Linked DNA regions of Homo sapiens: region 1 is linked to region 2. The links are contacts of gene promoters, found by promoter capture Hi-C in human tissues and cell types (Jung and others, 2019). All regions are on one chromosome and are shown on one strand. Each heading gives the region's core, a stretch centred on a gene start or on the middle of the fragment in contact. The rest is flanking DNA. Distances are from core to core; before and after follow the strand shown. Region 1 has its middle 16 kb from the start of ZNF586. Region 2 holds the start of ZNF587 (zinc finger protein 587).

Region 1 (2,916 bases), core at 155-2,654, 64 kb before region 2:
TAAAAAAATTCAGTTCATGCGGGTGCGGTGGCTCACGCCTGTAATCCCAGCACTTTGGGAGGCTGAGGCAGGCGGGTTGCCTGAGCTCAGGAGTTCGAGACCACCCTGGGCAAGACGGTGAAACCCTGTCTCTACTAAAATACAGAAAATTAGCCGGACGAGCCGGCATGTGCCTGTAGACCCAGCTACTCAGGAGGCTGAGGCAGGAGACTTGCTTGAACCCGGGAGGCGGAGGTTGCAGTGAGCCGAGATGTGCTACTGCACTCCAGCCTGGGCGACAGAGTGAGACTCATCTCAAATAAATAAGATAATAAAATCCAGTTCAGTAAAATGTGCCTGATAAAATATAAGTGACTACTGGCCTGGAGCAGTGGCTCACGCCTGTAATCCTAGCACTTTGAGAGGCCAAGGCAGGTGGATCACCTGAGGTCCGGAGTTTGAGACCAGCCGAGTCAACATGGTGAAACCCTGTCTTTACTAAAAAATACAAAAATTAACTGGGTGTGGTGGCACATTCCTGTAATCCTGGCTACTTGGGAGGCTGAGGCAGGAGAATTGCTTGAACCCTCCGGGCGGAGGTTGCAGTGAGCTGAGATCACACCACTGCACTCCAGCCTGGGCGACAGGGCAAGACACCGTCTCAACAAAACATATATATAAGTAATGAATGAATATTATGTCAATATTCTAAGTCAGAATGTTACTGTAATACTTTTTAATTCTCATTCCATTTAAAATAACTGGTTAATTTTCAAATCATAATGAAATTTTTACAAATTTATGTGTAGTACAAAGCATGCATATACATTCATATGTATTATATGTATATATAGCCTTTAAAAATATTTATGAGCTTTATGCCGGGCGCGGTGGCTCACGCCTGTAATCCTAGCACTTTGGGAGGCGGAGGCGGGCGGATCACGAGGTCAGGAGATCAAGATCATCCGGGCTAACACAGTGAAACCCCGTCTCTACTAAAAATACAAAAAAATTAGCCGGGCATGGTGGGCACCTGTAGTCCCAGCTACTCGGGAGGCTGAGGCAGGAGAATGGCGTGAACCCGGGAGGCGAAGCTTGCAGTGAGCCGAGATCGCGCCACTGCACTCCAGCCTGGGCTACAGAGCCAGACTCCGTTCTAAAAAAAAAAAAAAAAAAAAAAAAAAAAAAATATATATATATATATATATATATATATATATATATATACACACACACACACACACACTAGCTTTAGCTTCCAGTAGATGCAATTTATGTCTTTATGACCCTATGTAATGAAATGTCCATTTTGATTCGTGGCTCTTGATGGCATCTCAAATGATGTCTTAGATCTGCGAAGAAGCTCAGCATCACAAATTCTGAAATAAGTCTCCAAACACACGGGTAATCGGTTGCACACAGTACCCGCAGAAATGCGCGTATGGCCTCTTCTAAGATGGGGGAGCCTCCTCTGCAACTGGACCTGGAGTTGCCATTTCCTAACGCCCGTCGCGGTGGAGCTTAGCCCCTTCTTCCGAAAGTCAGGTTGGAGGCGGCCTTTAAGCGCCGCGCGTCTCTCGGAACTTAAATATTACCCGGAATCGTCTCTGTGAATTGGAAAGCCCATTGAAGCCTCAGAGAAGCCGCGCCATTGCGGAGGCACGTAACGTCAAGCAGGGACTTCCTGCGTCCTCGCCGCGGTGGCCATTTTGGCTTGTCGGGACCATCCACCTATGCTGCGTCTGTACCTCTTTGTCAGGACCGAGAGCGCGCGAGAGGAGTGGTTGTGCCCATTGCACACAGGCGGATCTGAGGCTTGGCGACGCCGCTGGTCGCGACCTGGGACAGGACGAGCACAGGAACCGCCTGGCCTGCGTCCCCGCCCGCGCATGAAGTCGTGGCGGCGGCCGCTCAAGTGAGCCCTGCGACCTCCAGGCCTCACCCGCCATCCCCACACAGACCCTGAGACCCCTGACTGTGAGGGGCGCTTCCTCGCGTCCTTGCAGCTCAGGCCTCTGTCAGGGACCTAGAGGCGCCGGCGGGTGGAATCCCTGTTTCCGACACCGGTTGATGCGGTCGGGAGAGCGAGACTGGCCGAGGGACCGGCTTAGGCAAAGGCCTGGAGGCACGACTGCGCCAGGAGGATTCGGAACACAGGGACATCTTGTGTCCACTGAGAACAAAGTATGAGTCGGAGTTATTTCCTCAGTACCAGGCTGAGGATTGATCTTTGTGAGGACCGTAGAAGCCATGGACAGTTTTGAACAAAGGAGGAAATCTGTGTTAGAGTTAAAGATTCCGAAAAGATGTTCAAAGGAAGAACGGAGTGTAAGGCGGTGATGAGGACAGTGAGGCATTGAGAGGTTGAATATTTGCTCAAGGTCACGTAGCTGGTAAGAGGTGACATTGAGCACTGGGCCACAAGATTAGAGACTCAGCCTGAGGTCACCTGGCTACAGGGCCAAAAAAAGCTTACAGAGAAACCTGAGTCTATCAAATCCCAGCAGGGACACATTCCTGAAAGCTCCGCCTTTTGGCACACCTTCTCATGGCTATGGAAGTATTTAAGGAACCCACAGAAGGAAGTATAGGATGCTCTAGTCCCTCACTGGTCCTCATCCTCACCTATATGTCTAGATCTTAATGTCCTGGGAATTTATTTATTTAGCGACAGAGTGTCACTCTTGGTACCCAGGTTGGAGTGCAGTGACGCGATCATGGCTCAGCATAGTCTTGACCTCCCCAGGCTCAGGTGATCCTCCCATCTCAGTCTCCCGAGAAACTGGCTAATGTTTGTGTTTTTAATAGAGACGGGGTTTTGCCATGTTGCCTAAGATGGTCGAAAACTCCTGGGCTCAAGCAATCCTCCCGCCTTGGCCTCCTAAAGTGCTGGGATTACAGGCGTGAGCCGCTGGTCTGGCCAGGCCTCCTAGGACT
Region 2 (2,943 bases), core at 182-2,681:
TTTTTGAGACAGAGTCTCACTCCTGTTGCCCAGGCTGGAGTGCAATGGCATGATCTCGACTCATCGCAACCTCCACCTCCAGGGTTCAAGTAATTCTCCTACCTCAGCCTCCCGAGTAGCTGGAATTGGAGGCATGCAGCACCATGCCTGGAAAATTTTGTACTTTCAGTAGAGACACGGTTTCTCCATGTTGGCCAGGCTGGTCTCGAACTCCCGACCTCAGGTGATCCACCTGCCTTGGCCTCCCAAAGTGCTGGGATTACAGGTGTGAGCCACCATGTCTGGCCTTTATTTTTATTTTTTGTGGGTATATAGTAGTGTATATATTTGTAGATTACATTAGATATTTTGATGTAGCCATGCCATATGTGATAATCACATAGGGTAAATGGGGTCTCAGTCACCTCAACATTTATCCTCTGTATTATAAACAGTCCAGTTATACTCTTTTAGTTATTTTTAAATATATAATTAAATTATTTTGACTATAGCCACCCTGTTATGGTAGCAAATATTAGGTCTTATTCATTTTTGCTCACTGTTTTTTGTACCCATCCTGTCATCATGTCTTATGGAGAATTTTCTTTTGTTCCCAACAAAACAATGAAACTCGCAAAACTGACTGTAATGATTCAGTCTACGTGAATTTAAAGAGCAATCAATACTTAATGTTCTCAGCTCTGAGTGCACACATTGTAAGTCTGAATGATGCCAATGATATGGCCACTTAGATAAGTAAAGTTTGGGAGCATCTCAAATAGTATTTTTATTCTCTGGGTGCAGGATGAGCTTCCTAGAGTCTGATGTGATACCTATTTGATGCTTTTACAAAGAATCAATAATCTTCCTCCTTTGAGGTGTGAGCAGGGCTTTCCAGCAGCCCTCAGAATGTAACATGGTCTGCATTCGGTTTGCTCTTGGAGGATACCACCATTGTTGGCTGAGAGCTCTGGGAAGTACTTTACCCAGAAGGCGCTAGTTGCAAGGCCCAGGATGAGGGATTTCTGGGCATGCTTGTCAGGCCAGGGAGTACTGGGTTGGGACTGAGAAGGCACAAGAGGAGTAGTCATCTCTGCTCCCAAGTGGCAGGTCTGAGGCTCATAGGCACTGGCTGGGGTGATGCCTGCTCCACCCACAGTTGATGGCAGCAGCCACACTGAGGGACCTAGCTCAGGTAAATGCTGTGTATTACAGGCTTCACCCCAGCTAGAGTAATACAGGTAGAGGAACCAATAGGTACAAAGGCTTGGAGGTGCATCTGAGCCATGAACATTTCAGAACCTGGTAACCATGTTGTGTCATGGAAAGTGGGGAACTACATTACCCAGAAAGCTCTGCTTTAAACGACAGCCGGTCAGAGCCAGTGAGCACTCGGAAAGAAGGCATTTCCACGTGTGCACGTAACGTAAGGCCGAGACTTCCGGGGTCTCTAGTAGCGGCTGTGTATCGGCGATGCGGGTGTTTCCCCAGTTTGTGGCCCCTGAGTGCTGGGTGGGACCGCGGTGACTGAACCTAGAAGGTGGAGAGGAATCGTCCTCGGTGCCCAGAGGCGGCTCTGCAGCCCCGTGACGGCGACCACTGCTCCCGGGCCGTGCTTCCCCAAGTAGTCCGATGGCAGCGGCTGTGCCGAGGCGCCCAACTCAGGTAATTGTGGTGCCTTCTGTGCCCTCAGGTCACCCCATCGTCACCCAGGTCCTAAACCAGCGAGGGAGCGGCTCCTGCTCGTGGGTCTGTAGCCGGTACCCGGCGTAGGAACACTGAGGCGCTCACAGGAGGCCTCTCCTTGTAACCGTCCAGTGGGTTCACGTTGCCAGCTGCCTAGACAGAGCCGATTTATGAAGACTGGGGAATTGCGATGGAGAAATAGTAATTCACGCAGAGCCGTCCTGCTGTTCGGGAGACAGGAGTTTTATTATTCAAATCAGTCTCCCTGAGCATTCTGGGATCAGAGTTTTCAAAATTTGGCGGGTAGGGGCTTGGGAAGTGGGGAGTGCTGATCAGTCTGGTTGGAGATGGATTCATAGGGGGTTAAAGTGAGTTTTTCATGCTGTTTTCTGTTCTGGGTGGGATGGCAGAACTGATTGACCCAGATTACCGGTCTGTGTGTTGTCCGCTGATCCATCCAGTGCAGGATCTGCAAAATGCCCCAAGCACTGATCTTAGATATTGGGGAAACCAGCCCCACACCACCCAGCAGATACCCCGAGTCCTGCGGAGACAAAGGAGTTAGAAAGAGACAGAATACGCATTTAAAAGGCGGGTCCAGGTGGCCAGAGCATTGGAGGCTTCCTGGCGGCCCAGAGCTCTTGGGCTCCACCCAGTTTATTGGTTTACAAGCTCTTTGTTCTTATGGCTGATTGGAGGGGGAGGAAGCGATCAGGAAAAGGATTAATCAGTAAAGGAGAACTCGTGAGTCATTCCATAAGATGTAAAGCACTGGCCGTTTCTGTGAATTTCCTTGAACAAAGGCGTGTGTCTAAACTACTTAAGATCTTTAACTTAACTGAAACGGGTGGCTGCGGGTTTCAGGAGGAGCCAAGATGTTTGATTATGCTCCACTGCTTCAAGGGAGTGTGATCTCCCTGAGCAACCCATGGAATGCTGCTGAAGAGTTATGCTCTCGGGGCATAAAGACATGAAGGCAATAAGGAGACTTTTCTCCTCAGAGGCCGCCCATGGCTTCCCATGGGTGTCTCACACAGGGGAGACCAACTCAACTAGCACCCCAGAAACTCACATTAGGTTTTACAATAGTAAGGTTATCTTCAGGAGCAACTTGGGGAGGTTCAGACTCTTGGAGCCAGAAGCTGCATGACCCCTAAACCGTAATTTCTATTCTTGTAGCTAATTTGTTAGTCCTGCAAAGACAGGCTGGTCCCCAGGCAAGAAAGGGGTCTTTTCAGGAAAGGGCTATTATCAATTTTGTTTCAGAGTGAAACCATG

Evidence for each region. The method cuts DNA at HindIII sites, captures the fragments that hold promoters and counts their contacts. A contact is called where the count stands out against the background at its distance.
Region 1: a contact is called between a fragment that was not itself captured here and the fragment with the promoter of ZNF587 in region 2, in 1 of the 25 tissues and cell types used here (bladder).

Annotation. Positions count from the first base shown.
Region 1 is chr19:57,784,623-57,787,538 of GRCh38, forward strand. No RefSeq gene overlaps it. Among named protein-coding and RNA genes, the nearest start is that of ZNF586, 16 kb to the left of the region's middle. RefSeq lists enhancers at 1,136-1,755, 1,756-2,374. The HindIII fragment of the contact is 4,625 bases long and covers 1-2,916 here.
Region 2 is chr19:57,848,428-57,851,370 of GRCh38, forward strand. ZNF587 (zinc finger protein 587) reads left to right here and starts at 1,432. Exons shown (of 3, transcript NM_032828.4): 1 at 1,432-1,644. The coding sequence starts at 1,612. LOC124904782 (a long non-coding RNA gene) reads right to left here. Exons shown (of 2, transcript XR_007067358.1): 2 at 1,888-2,134. RefSeq lists enhancers at 1,030-1,139, 1,210-1,269, 1,440-1,679, 1,730-1,819, 1,874-2,943. The HindIII fragment of the contact is 32,917 bases long and covers 1-2,943 here.